2 separate regions of the Homo sapiens genome follow, and region 2 is linked to region 1. The links are contacts of gene promoters, found by promoter capture Hi-C in human tissues and cell types (Jung and others, 2019). All regions are on one chromosome and are shown on one strand. Each heading gives the region's core, a stretch centred on a gene start or on the middle of the fragment in contact. The rest is flanking DNA. Distances are from core to core; before and after follow the strand shown. Region 1 holds the start of LMBRD1 (LMBR1 domain containing 1). Region 2 overlaps COL9A1 (collagen type IX alpha 1 chain).

What was found. Contacts are between HindIII fragments. The study calls those that stand out against the background at their distance.
Region 2: a fragment that was not itself captured here is called in contact with the fragment with the promoter of LMBRD1 in region 1 in 1 of the 25 tissues and cell types used here (dorsolateral prefrontal cortex).

What each region holds. Positions count from the first base shown.
Region 1 is chr6:69,792,549-69,800,412 of GRCh38, reverse strand. It overlaps LMBRD1 (LMBR1 domain containing 1), which reads left to right and starts at 3,403. Exons shown (of 16, transcript NM_018368.4): 1 at 3,403-3,600. The coding sequence starts at 3,532. RefSeq lists enhancers at 3,482-3,711, 3,340-3,895, 4,022-4,071, 3,896-4,452. The HindIII fragment of the contact is 20,594 bases long and covers 1-7,864 here.
Region 2 is chr6:70,220,751-70,228,614 of GRCh38, reverse strand. COL9A1 (collagen type IX alpha 1 chain) reads left to right here. Exons shown (of 38, transcript NM_001851.6): 37 at 2,606-2,683. Among named protein-coding and RNA genes, the nearest start is that of COL9A1, 78 kb to the left of the region's middle. The HindIII fragment of the contact is 5,172 bases long and covers 1,567-6,738 here.

The DNA.
Region 1 (7,864 bases), core at 2,154-4,653:
AGGTGAGCAGGAGACCTGGATCCTGGTCCCCAGAAAAAACGGAGGCCCCAGGGCTTCCATGGAGGAGGGTCAGATTTTTATTTTTACTTGTCTGCATTCTAACTATGAATTCTCCCTTATATGCATAATTAAAAAGGGATTCAAGAATTTATTATATAACTCTTAGACCCCTCAGACAAATAAAATTTCTACAAATGTATTAGCAAGAGGAGAAGATTCATAAACAGATTTATTTAATGAGAACTGTTGCTGACCTGTGGAATTCCATCCTTAACTCCAAAGAGTGGTGTATTTGTGGGTGAGGTGGAGGGGTGGGTGGGTTGGAGTGGGGTGTTACCTTCTAACCCTTAGCCTAGTAAGGGAGGCCTCAAGGGAGCTACTTGGAGAATTTGAAATATGGCCCCTGAAATTGAGGACACAGAGGGCTAGTGTCTGACCCAGTAGAGAGAACTACAGTGGACTGTAGCATCAGGGGCTGACTTTCTTGGGTATAATCAAAAAGGGCTGATTCCTTTGATTGTAGAACTAGGAGAATGGAGCTACATTGGGATTGGCCTGTGCTCCCAAAGTTGTTGGTGCAAGGTATGTATCATCATTCCTACAGAGGGGATTTAGACTATTTGGGGAAAGGGGAAGAACTGGCTTGGGGTTGTCTTAGGCCTCTCCTCCAACTTAAATGAGCTTCTAGAAGAAGATTACAAGACCTCAGCAGGAAAAGGAATAATTAAGTATACCTCAGTATGCTCTGGGGCTTGTGGAGGAGATATAAGTGACTACCTGTCAGTGGCTCAAGTCCCTGCAAGTTTGTGTCTTTCCACAGTCAGACTTTTGTTGATGCTATTTCAATCATAAAAGCCATGAGCTGTATGAAGGTCCGAAGGAGGTAATTTTCCTTAGTAGTACCCATTCATTTGGTAGTCAGAACCAAGGACACAAAGCTCTAGCCACTCCACAAGTCAGTCAATATTGCAAACCAAACATAGTAGTATACATAACATATAAATATTATAGGCTAAACATTCTAAAAGAAAATAACATTTAACATCAAGAGAAAGGTTAGGAAAACAGGATTAACCAATCCAAGGAGAGCAACATGGACAAGGAGAGTGTCCTCGGCTGATCAGGATGCATATCAACATTTTGCAAGGAAGAGTCTTTGATTTGAGCAGAACCTTTGGTGGCAGATGCTAGATGCTGATCATGAGTGACAGTAAGACAGTGTCTGTTAAGATGGCTATCTTGAGCTGTTGAAGTTCTACTCTTTTTATAGCCTCAGAGTCCTCTGGTGTTGACTGATAGTAAAGAGTGTGCCTGCAATAGCAAATACTTGGAACCAACTGAAATGTCCATCAGTGATAGACTGGATTAAGAAAATGTGGCACATATACACCATGGAATACTATGCAGCCATAAAAAAGGATGAGTTCATGTTCTTTGTAGGGACATGGATGAAGCTGGAAAACATCATTCTCAGCAAACTATTGCAAGGACAGAAAACCAAACACCACATGTTCTCACTCATAGGTGGGAATTGAACAATGAGAACACTTGGACACAGGAAGGGGAACATCACACACTGGGCCCTGTTGTAGGGTGGGGGAAAGTGGGGAGGGATAGCATTAGGAGATATACCTGATGTAAGACTAGTTAATGGGTGCAGCACCTCAACATGGCACATGTATGCATATGTAACAAATCTGCACGTTGTGCACATGTACCCTAGAACTTAAAGTATAATAATAATAATAATAATAATAATAATAATAATAAAAGAGTGTGCCTGGTTATGTCGTTATCTGGTTGGGTGCAGTCTCTATTGATTAGGTGAACATCTGGTCCCTTTTGGCATGATTCCTTTTGAAATGTAAACAGAATCTTTTTCTAAGAAGTAGTTACTTATGTCAAGGGTGCTCTATACAATCTGGAATAGAGATATCAACCTGGAAGCGATACCTCTCTTCACTTTAAGGAAGCTATGACAGAGGTCTCCAGGGATATGAATTATTAGGAAGAAAGAGTGAAATTCAAACATTTGCAGGTCTAGAGGGCTTAAAGCCAGCTTATGATGGTACCAGTTCAAGTTAAAACTGTATTCTCCCCTATTCCCTTCTTATTCTGTCCAGGCAGGAAGGACCATCCTATTTTTTCCCTCAGGCTTCCAGCCGGAAGTAGATTATAGGTAGAGCATAACTCATCACCACATAATACATTGGAAAAAGATGATGGTATTTTTTCTCAGAGTTGTTTCTTGACTACATCACAGTGGTGAAACATGCACTCACACCCCTGTGGACTCAGGTAAGCCATCCCAAGAGTTTCCTCCCTGTGGACTCAGGTAAGCCATCCCAAGAGTTTCCTCCTTCTTCTTCATTGTGGGCCTATGGCAGTGTGTTTTGTTTGCTGATGCATATACCTTTACATACAAAGCTATCATGGAAATTCACAGGCATGCATACATCTGAATAGAAAGGCTATAACATCATGTGATAAGTTCATGTCCAGCCAACCAGTTATCCCGGCTGGGCACCAGTGCCAGTAAATTAGAGTGATTTGGGCAGCTAGTCAACTTTTATTCAGAGTCAGCTGTCTCATGCGTCCGTGTGAAGAGACCACCAAACAGGCTTTGTGTGAGCAACATGGCTGTTTATTTCACATGGGTGCAGGCGGGCTGAGTCCGAAAAGAGAGTCGGCAAAGGGTGGTGGGATTATCATTGGTTCTTACAGTTTTTCGGATAGGAGGTGGAGTGAAGAGCAATGTTTTGGGGGTAGGGGGTAGATCTCACAAAGTACATTCTCAAGGGTGGGGAGAATTACAAAGAAACTTCTTAAGGGTGGGGGAGATTATAAAGAACATTGATCAGTTAGGGTGGGGCAGAAACAAATCACAATGGTGGAATGTCATCAGCTAAGCTATTTTCACTTCTGTGGATCTTCAGTTGCTTCAGGCCAGCTGGATGTATACGTGAAGGTCACTGGGGATATGATGGCTTAGCTTGGGCTCAGAGGCCTGACATCAGCCATTCTTGCAACCTGGTAAGGAGTTCTGCTAATCACACACATTCCACCTTGTACACGAGGGCCAAACTTCCTTTTGGTGAAGAAGTATAAACCTCTAAAATTGACTTGGATCTCCAGGTCCACCTAGCCCATTCTTTGTGGAGTTCCCTTGCTGTTCTAGTCTATCAACTTAGGCTGAGTCAAATATCTCAATAGGTTGCCCAGCTATGAGCCAACACCCTGCTCTGCAGCCCTCCCACATCTCAGCTTGCAGGGAAGCCAGCGAGGGCAGCGTGGTGATGTCACTGCGTCCGCACGCGCCCCGCCCCTGAGCAGTCCTTGCTGCCCCGCCCCCGCTCGGCTCGCCGCCAGGGGACGCTAGTGGGTCCAGTCTCCTTGGCAACCACTTGCTCCTCCCCCTCCGCCCCTTTAACCTTTAGGGTGCGCGGGTGCAGTATATCTCGCGCTCTCTCCCCTTTCCCCCTCCCCTTTCCCCACCCCGGGCGCTCAGGTTGGTCTGGACCGGAAGCGAAGATGGCGACTTCTGGCGCGGCCTCGGCGGAGCTGGTGATCGGCTGGTGCATATTCGGCCTCTTACTACTGGTAGGGGAGGCGCTTGGAGTTTTCCCCATGTTTGGACTGGGGGAGGAAGGGAGGGGCAGGCCCTGCAGTTGGCCTCTCCGGGCCCCGGAGACCCTCTTCGCCCCGCCCCGCTTTTAGCTTGGACTGTGGAGGGCTCCTTAGTGTTGGGGGCTTGGGCGGGCGGCGGGGGCAGGGGGGTGTCGATTTCCGGTCTCTTTTGCTGTCATTTCACCGATGACGTCTAGGGTTGCAGGGTCCTTTTTGGAAGCTCTTGCCGTCATCGCTGACTTGGGCAATGGGGCCGGTGGGGTTTGGGGGCGGAAGAGACCCTCGGGGTTGAGAAGTATGTGGTGGCCTTTCGTCCCCTGTAAAACATTGTCACACGGTGTGGGGCGGCAGCGCTGGATCTTTGCAAGTTAAGTAGGCGCTGGCGTTGTTTACTTGTCACCTTCTCTGTATGTTTTTTCCCTCATTTTCCCTACCCTTGGGGCTAGTGAGTCTCCAACCTCTGTGCCCATTGTGTGATTCTGCCTTGATGACGTGAGTTGCTCGTTCTGACTTCCAGGTGTCACATTCTCTTCTAATCTTTTTTTGATTGGTGTAGATACCTGTGGAGGGCGGAGCTGTAGCCCTCTTTATTACCAGTATCGGAGTATATACTACTACCTGTCTGACCTCAGGTGCTTTCTTTTCCAACGATCTTATTTCTGCATATTCAGTGAGCAAAGTGTAGATAGAAATGTCTCAGAGTGGCCTGGCTATTACTTCCCTGTTCATATTAAAACCCTTTGGTTTATTTGGGAGTTCAATTTATTTCCTTTCATAACTTCTCTACCTTCTCAAATCTTCTCTTTTCTCATCGTCCGAGGCTGTAGTTACTTTCTGTTCTCACGTATTTTGACCTTTTTGCATTGCAAAACAAAAACCTCCAGTTCTGGAAATCAGGCTTGTTTGGTTTTACTTTAATTGTCAGATCCAGTTGGTGTCTGGTACCTATGTAGTATGTTCTAGTAGATTTTTGCAGTAGAGACTAAAAAAAGAAAATAAAAGAAAAGAATGGTGTGAAAATTTAAGAAAAGGATCCTCTTGTTACTGCCATCACTGTCACAGATAAAAACACTGCCTTTACCCTGGAACATGTTAGTCCTCTCTTGGAGGAAATGAAACCCTAAAGGTTGACTGTGGTCTCTGCAGCCACCCAGTCCTGTATTTGGAGAGCCCCCTGGCTTTTCCAGTCCATCAGATTTAGTTTGTTTAGAAAAAAATAAATAAGCATGTAATGTATGAAAGTTACGTGAGACTATCTTGGCAGTTATAAATTAATAAACATTTACGGTACAGAAGTGGTGTGAATTGTAAGAGGATGTAAACCAAACAAAATACGGCTTTAAAGAGGGCCTGAAGATAAGTGAGAAAACTGAAATTCTTGAAACATGTATTTTATGGACCGAAAGCCAAAGTGTGACTATAAATAAAGCAGGACTTAAGAGAATAGACAACAATATTGGAAGAAAATGAGAATTGTGGTAGAGTTTGGATAGATGAAGAAGAGAGGCCATTTAAGTTGGCAATATTACAGCAAGGACAAATAAAATCAGAATTGAATGTTGTCGTGGATAAAAGCATTAGGAAGAAGGACTTTTGTTTAAATTTCTGCAAATCTCTTTAAATCCTGGTTTATTAGAAGAAAGGCTGGTTTCTTTTGTTGCCTTCTACATTCAGTCTTTTGGGGTATGTTATTTTAGTCGAAGTGTATGGAGAAAATACAGCTGCAATGATAGGTAGTCAGAAACAGAGGAGCGTTTTTCAGATAATTGTGGATGTTTTTTGACACTACACCAAAGCTCAACAAGTGGAAGATTCATGTCAGCTGCAAGGTGGAATCTGAAACCCTATCAATGAGCATTTCATTCATTGTTACATTAAAATCCATTAGCCCATCTTGCACTTTGAAAGGCTCTTTTACCCATGCATGGTTTTATAACATGATGCCATGGCCACTTAGAAAATGTTGGTTTACTGAGTTATGCACATCTTTTAAATATGGATACGTTTCATTACACAATATCAAAATATCACATTTCATTAAATTACAACTGATCTTGTCAGAAATGTCTCTGAAAATTCTAAGTATTGAAGAGTTGTCAAGCTCATACTTGTGGATGTAAGTCTTTCAAAATCCAATTTTCATTTGAAAGTTTGACTCATAATTATCATTGGTATCAAATACTGTCAGTTTTTCTTTAAGTGATAGATTCCCTTTGTTCATTTGACAAAATCTGCCAAAAAGCGAAGTCTGAATAACCAGTTTGACAATTGTTCTTTCAAGTAAAAATGGTGTTCCTTGAAGAGTGGTTGGTTTAGCTTTTAACTCTAAACTTTTCCTGGAGATAGCCATCACATCTTGGTATGCAGCAGGACTTTATGTACGCATGCTTCATATTTTACCCCACAAAGTATTAAAAAGAGTCAAGGGTTGAATTTCAATAAAATGAATTTATGCTGCTTTGTGAAGCACAGTCTTAATTTAAATTGTCCCTTTTTGAACTTGTGGTGAAGAATACAATGATTACTGGTGCAGTTTGGTGCCACTGTCTTGATTCACGCTAATGCACCAGTAGTTTTACCCACTGTGGCTATGAACCATGAGTGCAAATGTCAGCACAGTGAAAAAGGCAAATAGCATCTTAGTATTTATTATGAGAATAGTTTTCAACTTCTGAATCTCCAGAAAGGATTCTGGGGACTACCAGGGCCTAGGGATTTCACACTTGGAGAACTTCTGCCAATCATCTACTAAATATTCAGGACATGGGCCAGGTGTGGTGGCTCACACCTGTAATCCCAGCACTTTGGGAGGCTGAGGCAGGTGGATCAGTTGAGCTCAGGAGTTGAGACCAGCCTGGGCAGCATGGCAAAGCCCCATTCCTACTAAAAATACAAAAAATTAGCCGGGCGAGGTGGCAAATGCCTGAGGTTCCAGCTACTCAGAAGGCTGAGGTGGGAGGATTGCTTGAGCCCAGGAGGTGGTTTGTGGAGGCAGTTGCAGCAAGCTCTGATAGTGCCTGGGCAACAGAGGGAAACTTCGTCTCAAAAAAAAAAAAAAAAAAAAAAAGATTCAGGACATGAATGTTGCCTACTTTTGTGATCGTGGGCAAAAAGAATGGACTTCAGTTTCTTCACACATAAGGAATTGTTAGATTTGGTATCTCATGCCTGTAATCTAACTATGTCTGTCTTTACTATATCAAATCTAAACTGTTCTATCTAGCTTCAATGTCCTCTGTAATTTGGCTCACACCACCTTTAAATTGTATTTGCCATTACAATAGGAGACTCTCCATTTTTGTAAAGCAAATTTATTCTTGTTCCTTAAAGTGTGGGCATCATCTGGGAACTTGTTAGAAATACCAAATATGTGACCCCAGTCCTACTGAATCAGATCTGCAGTTTAACAAGATCCCATACAGTATGTCATCTATTCTCATTAGTTTAATGAAGATTCATCTCTTCTCATTCCTTCTTCTGCCCCAGTGGTTTGCAAACTTGACCTTTCATCAGAACCACCTGGGGAGTTTTAAAAATCTCAGTGTTCAGACCAATTTATTTTGAATCTTTTGGGAGAAGCTGGGGGGACTATTTGAAACTTTTCTTTATAATTGTTAACAGAGTTATATATTTGTTTCTTTTATCAAATTATCTAATAACTACTACTGTTTGTTAAGCAGTTACTATGGCCAGCCACTATGGTAAACCCTTTATATCTCATTTAATCCTTATAACTTGTTATGAAAGAAGTATTCCTATAGACGAGGATACTTGGTTTTATTTTATATTGTAGTAATGATTGATAACATGAACAAAAAGCTCTTTAAGGTTATCAGTTTTAAAACCATTATAAAGGGATTCTGAGACCAAAAAGTTTGGGAATCTCTGGCTTAACTCTTCTGCCTGGTTGCCGTTTCCTAGCTTGTCTGCCTGATATTGGCAAAATCCTTTGTTTGCAGTAATACCTACAAAATGCAGGTTTTCTTTCATTCTTGAAATCCAATAAAAAATTTATTGGAACACTTTGTGTCAAGTACTGCTGAGGATATAAAGATGAGACTCAGCTTTCAAAGACTTCAGAATGAATTTGGGGAATGTTAAAAATATTTATGAATTCCTTTAAAAACAAGCTCATTCAAATATTAATACAAAGTCACATTTTATGAAAAATAAATTTCCCAAAATCAAGAATTTGAGCCTAGATCCTTTTTGTTTGTTTGTTCCAAAGTCTTAACTC
Region 2 (7,864 bases), core at 2,903-5,402, 430 kb before region 1:
ATACAGATATTTTTTCTGTTTTTGTTGTGTACATGACTTTGTTTTTAAAATTATAACAAATATGACTTAATATTGAATGAGGCTAAGCTGAAACAAATGTTTGGAAAAAAAATGGTATGTATAGAATTTATTGCAAGGTGCCATTGCATTTTCTAACAGCATAGTAGAATAATGATATACTACTGTACTACCGGAATAATGGGATAATGCCTTCAACAAAGAGCAGCAGACATCATTTAGGACCAGTTAACTAAGGAATTAATGCCTTTTGTTAATGAGGTCAAGTTGCTGGGTTTGGTATCTTCAGGGGCTGGGATAATTAATGCAACTTTGTTCTGTGGCTGCTAAATCCCCAATTTCAATCAACTGTCTTGTAAATGTCTTGCAAATCCACATGGTTGGTTGCAATCCAAAGTATGTTCCCTATAAACAATGAGTCAGTAGTGAAATGTAGACACTGTAACAACACACTTTATGTTTTTAAGATTGATTAATTTATATTTCATAATACTAAATTTATACAGTTCCAAAAATTAACAATGTATAAAAAAGATATTTAGTGAAGTTTCTCTCCTATCCCTGTCTCCCATCTGCCTAATTTCCTTTCTCCTTCCCACTAGGTAATCAATACTATTCTTTTCTTACATATCCTTACAAGCAATTCTATATAAGGATACATGAATATGTATTTTTTCTACATCCTTTTAAAAATGAATCATATTGTCCTTTAGCAAGTGTTCTGGAACTTGCCTTTTTCACTGAGCAGTATGCCATGGAGACCATTCCAAAGAGCTTCCTGGCTATTCTTCACAGCTGCATAGTGTTCTATTCTGTGGAAATTCTGTAATGTCTTTAACCTTTTAATGGACATAGATTGTTTCCAACCTTCTGCTATTATGGCAAGGCTGCAGTGAACAACATTGTACATATTTCATTTTTGTATTAAAAAGCAGCATACACTCCATCTTTATCTCTATGATAAATTCCTAGAAGTAGAACTGCTGGGTAAAAATTTTGATAGCTATTGTCAAATTAGCCTCCAATGGGATTGTACAAATTTATACTCTTATCAGCAATTCATAATAGTGCATATTCCACAGACTTGCTAGTATATCTTTAATTGAACTTTGGAATTTTTGCCGATCTTATAGGTTAAAATAGCATCCTTTTTTTTTTTTTTTTTTTTTTTTACAATTTGCATTTATTTTGTTATGAGAGTGAAGTCAGGGAATTTTTCATATATTTAAGAGCCATTTTTACTTCCTTTTAGTGGCCTGCCTGCTCATGTATTTTGGTCATTTTTTTGCTGTTGTGTTGTTGGCCTTTTTGTATTGATTTTAGGAACCCTTCATATTTTGAATCTTAATAAAAAGGCCAATCTGAGGTCATAATTCTCCCTTGTTTTCTTTTGATTCTTAACTTACAGTAAAATACTTGATCCATTTGTATTTTATCCTGGAATAGGGTGTGAGGTATAGATCTAACTTTTCTTTTCCAGTTGACTACCCACTTCTTCCAATACCATTTACTGAATTGTTCAACTTTTTCCCACTTTAAGACACCACCTTCATTATAAACCCAAATCCTGTATGTATTTGGGCCTACTTTTTGGGCTTTCTATTCTGTTTCACTGGTCTGAGTATTCAGGGAGCAACACCACACATTTTAGTTGATTTAATATCTGGTCAACTTAATTCCCTTCATGTTGCTTTTCTTTATGGAGTTTTTGTGGCTTACTCTGGCTTATGTGTTTTTCTATACAAACTTCAGGATCTTCTTTTCTGATAAAAAATGGGTTTGTATTTTTATTAAGATCATGATGAAAATTCAGCTTGGGGAGAACTGGCAATATTTTATGATGATATCATTTCTATTTAAGAATGATTTTCAAGTCTTCTGGTGTCCTTTAGAAATGTTAAACTTTTTGTCATGTTGGACTTGCCTATTTCTGATTAGTTTTATTCCTCGTTATTTAATATTTTAATTGTTATTATAAATGGTATCTTTTTTACTATGTCTTATTACTGGTTGTGTTAATATATATAAAATTTTAATTTCCATATATTAATTTTGTACCCTGCTAGTTGACTGAATGCCACTGTTTGTAATAGTTTTTGAGTTAACTTTCTAGAGTTTTAAGATATATATTCATATCTCCTGAAAATAGAGATAGTTTTAACTACTCAAACCAAAAGTTATATATTAGTGATAAAGTAGGCGTCTTTATATTGTTCTGATTGTAGTGGAACTAATTCTTGTGTTTCCCATTAAGCATAATGCTAGCTTTTGGGTTGAGATAGATATATTTTTCGTGTTTAGGAAGTGGCCATTGGTTCTTATTTTATTGAATGTTTTATCAAGAATGCATGTTCAATTTTGTCAAATGTCATTCCAGTATCTATGAATATAATAATTTGATTTTCCCCCCTTAGATCTATTAATAGATGAACTTGATTTTTGCCTTGCTACATACTCACTACAATCTAGTTTATGGCAATTTCATGACCTTTTGGTTTCTGAATTTTAGATTTGCTGAAAGTTTAAAGATGCGGAAGTTTATTTTTATAGATATGTAGAAAAATAACATTTCTTTAATGTAATGCAGGTGACTTGGGAGAAAAGGGGGAGCGTGGCCCTCCAGGAAGAGGTCCCAACGGTTTGCCTGGAGCTATAGGTCTCCCAGGTAAGTGTGTTGTATAGCTGAGAGGAGGAGGTAGCGAAATTGGTAGCAAGTACACAGCCTGAATTGAATAAAATTTTAAAATAATTGTTATTTGATCACTTAAGCATATTAATTATTCAGAATGGCTAGCATAGATTTTTCAAGACCAGCTTTAGTAAAGAATTAAATGATCTGTAAATCAAATCAGAAAATAGGTATCAGGACTTGAAATACTAATTTCCTTAAATAGATGCTTCAAGAAAAATAGTGTCAAGGTCCAGGCACAATGCACTTGTTATAAAATTCTGAATAAATTGGATCCTATCTATTTCTAAAGCAGGTGATAGTTTCCTGTTTTTTTTTTTAATCTAAAATGCCAGAGCAGTAGGAAGATTAGCCTGTTTTTAATCTCTTGCACAAGGAGTAACTGAAATTTTATTTTTAAAGCTCCCCTTTCAAACACCCAGACCCTCCAAAACCCCACATCCAAAAAGAAAGAAAGAAAGAAAATACAAAACTGAACATTCCTGCTCATAATCACTAAGAGCCACACATCACAGCTGTGTCAACTGAGGTGACAGGGTAGCCCTTGTGTGAAGGGCCCAGATTCTCTCACTGGGCCTTCTGTTCTCTTTATACACTGGCTACCCTGTCACCAGAGTCCAGGCTGGAACACACTTATCCCTTAGGAAATGACTTACAAGCCCAAGCACAGAGGCAACATAGCAGGGCCAAAAGCCAGTTCAGTTTAAGGGCATGAATGATGCGCAACTTTCCAGCAAACGCTCTCTTATTGTGGGGAGGCAGTGGCTTAGGAAGGCTCCCAAAGCCCTAGGGGTCTGTTGCTGAGGAGAGTTGAGATGATACTTGCTTCCACAATGGTTTGGGAAAACTTGGCTTAGGGAAGTTTAGGAAAAGAAATTACAATTTTCTAATTCTGCCAGAGGCTGATGTATTTAATCACAGCTATAATTGTAGCCAAAAACATCATTGCTTTCCAATTATCCATTTCATTGCTTCTGGGGATTGTGTTCTCATTAAAAAATTTTTTAAAAAAACATGAATGTTTGGAGATAACTCAAACACTGCCTTTCTAAAACTGATTCATGGGCTCATCAAAATGTTTTCACATATTGATAAATTTTTATAATTGGAAATGGAAGATTTATGATTAGTAATGAAAGGAAAATCTGGCTTAAATGGGATTTAGAGAAGATTTTAATATACGGTAAAGCTTGGATTCATTGATGGGTGTGTAGAGGAGAGGAAAAGGAAATAGAATTTACTAAAGGTGCCTGTCTCCATCACCAGTAGTAGGAATAGGAAGTTTTGAGGCTGACAACATACCATCATCACAATTTACTTAATTATCTATATATTTATGAGAAAGCCTAATAACTCCTTCTTCTCTCATTTTATTGACAAATCGCTTAACAGTTCTTGAACCAATGACTTGCACTATTGGCAACATTTTCCTTTATTGAAAATGTATTATGGTTTATAGGGATTCTCACTTTGAAAATAATCTGTTGGTAAGCCACAATTTAAATGTAAAGATGAGAAGATTGAGAAGATCAGCTCCATGTGTGCTGTGTCCCAGACTGTCAGAAGCACATTATCTCCCACCTGCAGTAAACCATTTTCAGGAGCCAAGTTGATGGGGGGCGCAAACGGGGCACACAGTCAGTCAGAGGGGCTTCCCCGACTTGCTTTTTAGAACATCAGACCATCCACGTGTAAGTAAATTGTGAGGCAGGACAAGATCATCATTTGCAGCCCTCCCTAGGATCGCTTACAAACAAAATTATTAATTTTAGCTGATCTTGGATTTAATCTTAAATCTGAATTGTTGAAACATTTTGTGGACCCCCTGATCCAGGGGACTCCTAATACCTGTCCTTTCTGTTTTCCTTTTCCTTTCTTCCTTTGGCCAGTCCTTGCCCCTGCTTTCCTGGGATCACCTCCAAAATCGTTGCCCTCCTCTGATCTCTCCCCTCCTCTCACTTTGCTCTCCCCATCAGCTCTGATTATCTCCCATCCTTCTCACCTCCCAGCTGACTCTTCTTTCTTGATTTCCTTGTCCTGGTTTCTATGTCTCAACCTCGGTAACCTTCCTTTTTTGGACTTTTGTTACCTTTTAATTGAGACGATATCTGACATTATTTAGTGACAAATCTGAGTTCCAGATTATTTTTCAGGAATATAGGCTAACTTTCAAAAGCACAGATGCCAGAGAAGAGGGGTCTGCTGGTGGATCGTTTTCTGCGCTTTGGCGCGGTGTCCTCGTGTAGTGCGCAGGTGAAAGCACCAGCTGAGGGCTTGGGTTTCGAGGTCGGCCCACATTCTCTTGTTGACACCGTGCATATGCTCAAGTCAGTCAAGTTCCTGACATGAGCTTTTTGGGTCATTCCTCCCTTAAAGCTAGTACCTGGAAGTGGGCTGTTTGAAGAGTGGCATCTACAATTCAGACATCCTAGGTTCACGTTTTGACTATGCCACTAACTAACTTTATGATATTGGGCATTTTACTTAATTTCTCTACACCTCAGTTTTCCCATTTATAAAACAGTGATAACAAGAACATCTCTCTGATAGGGTAATTCTGAGAAATAAAGAAACTCAATCCATGTAAATTGCTTAAGACAGTTCCTGGCTATAGTAGGCGCTCAAGAAATGTTGGTTGTTCATACTATTATTAATATATCAAGTCCACTTTTTGCTTTTTAAGGTGGATCAAGGAAAGCTGAGGGCAAAGTTGGGCCCCAGTTCAGCCCCTGCAGCTTTTTTCTCTTGCCGTTGATCAGCAGTAATATATTACTCTTCTCTAAATCAGCACCGCCCCTGATGCCCAGACCTTCCCTCCATGAAAGTCTACTTCAACTCCAAATCACAAATGCGAAGTACTGGGTAGCAGTACATCTTTTCACTGGTTAATTGTCCACTGAGGCTATACTGCTTTTTATTTCTTGGTAGAGCTTGAATGTGACTAGGAATGTGATTTCTGATCTCTCAAAAACATAATATTAATAGGACTTTAAGGCCTGATGAAACTTCAAAAGGATTCTGTGCAGTAATTTGTCTGGAACCGTCTAGATAAAAAAATTCTTTTCTTACCTAAAATAAAGAAACTGCAGAACAGCATAGTCTGCAACCTTCTTTGTTGTTCCTGTTGTTGGATTTGGGGCTCAAATCCTCCTGAATAAAAAAAAAAAAGATAGTTGGATCATTCTTTGTGCTAAGGCATTTAACATATTTTTAACGATGTAACTAATATCATCATTTTCTATCGGTTGTTAGAGTTCCTGTATTCTTTCTGGACAGTTTTAGTTCCCTGTCTCCCCTCTCCAATGCTGTATCTCTGTTTGTTCAGTGTTAAGTATTACATGCCCTGCAGGGACATAATGCTCATTGCTTGTTATGGAACACAGGTTATTATTATAACCTTTACATTGATGATCATTTTGGCTACAGTGCTTTGTTGTTTAAAAAGTACACATGCACAATCTAGTTTGTTTCTCACAGCCAGGAGTAGGCTGGGTGAATATTTAAGAAGTGCAGACATGGAGCCAGGCTGCCAGGGCTTATGCACTATTCTTTTACCTTGAAGTGCTTCAGTTTCCTCTTCAGTGAATGGGAATCACTATGCCTACCTTGTATTTAGAGCATATATGCACATGTTAATACATGTAAAGCTCTTGGAACAGTGCCTGGCATATGGCAAACAGACACTCTGACATTATTTAGTGAAATTTAACTGTTATTATTGTTGCTCCCTTTTTTTATAATATATTTGAGAAAATACAGACTCTTAAATTCATGTCCTGACAAAAGTCTGTCAGGTAATAACAAGACAGATATTCATGCTTCCTGAGTCTATGTTCCCAAAGTGGACAGAATGATTGGCTGGCTGTCTAATCATACGATTAGTTTTTCTTTGCAACCTAGACATGTGAATTGAGCATGTCCCATAATTGCTGAGTGTCTCGCTTCTTTCTCTGCCTCTCTTGCAGAGCTACGTGGATCACATTAGCAATCCCTGGAACTTTAGTCTCCCCCGCCTTCAGTTTTGTGCCACAGGTCAGCTAGTGTTATTGCTTGGTCGGTTGTCTCAAAGACTCTCTCTGCTGCCACCAAACTTGCCCATTGGGACTAGTTCCTCGTCACTCTGAGAATTTTAAAGGAACATATTTATTAATAATAAAGAGTCCTGACTTCCTCTTTGTGCACTCACTAGGGCAAAACATAAATTAAATGACAAATCATTTGAATGTGAACACTAGGAAGGTGACTTGTGAGCTAAGGTGCTTTTTGCCTCTTGGACATGGAAGTTGTAGCTGGCTTTGTGCTGGACTATGCTAGGTTATAAGAGTATTTGGTTTTCTTGTGCAAAGTCCACAGAAAGGTGAGCTTTGCTTGAGACTATTGAGTGGAAAAATACACACGCACACATTCAGTTCTGGGCTAAGTTTTTCAGTACCTAATTTTTCCATTTCCATTGCTGCAGCTGTTTTATTTGGTTGCTGGGCCTTACATAAACCAGTTTATAATTCCTTAAACATATACTGCTTTGTCAAATACCACAACATTAAGCTCAAGAAATATAAGAAACTCCTGGTACATACAAAAAGTCTACATAACCAGTGGATTAATTATGAAATACCCTATTTAATGTGAAAATTATTCACTTTTTTTGTTTTGACTGTATACACAGTCCCTTTTACGCCACAGCATGTATTAGGTGAGGGGCTGCCTCCAGAATGATCCAGCCGAGATGGGCTTCCATCAGTGTAACATGACTACCCTCTAGTGGTTTTATAGAGAATGACATAGCTATTCATTTGTTTAAAAAAAAAACGTTTAGCAATAATTTTAAATATTTTATTTTATTTTAATTGACATATAATAGTTATACATATTTATGGGATATGTAGTAATGTTTCAATAGAAATATTACATAATGACCAGATTAGGGTAATTAGTATATCCATCATCTCAAACATTTATCATTTCTTTGTATTGGGAATATTCAACATATTTATAGGTCCTTGACATTTCAGAAAACCATGTAATCATTAGGCAGTTAGTGTAAGTAATACACACATGAGGCAGGCAGAGCAGAATAACACTTTAGATGCATGTTTTCTCTTTCTGAAGAGTTACAAAGCAGTTGATAGATATTCATGAATGTAGCTGCTGGGCTAA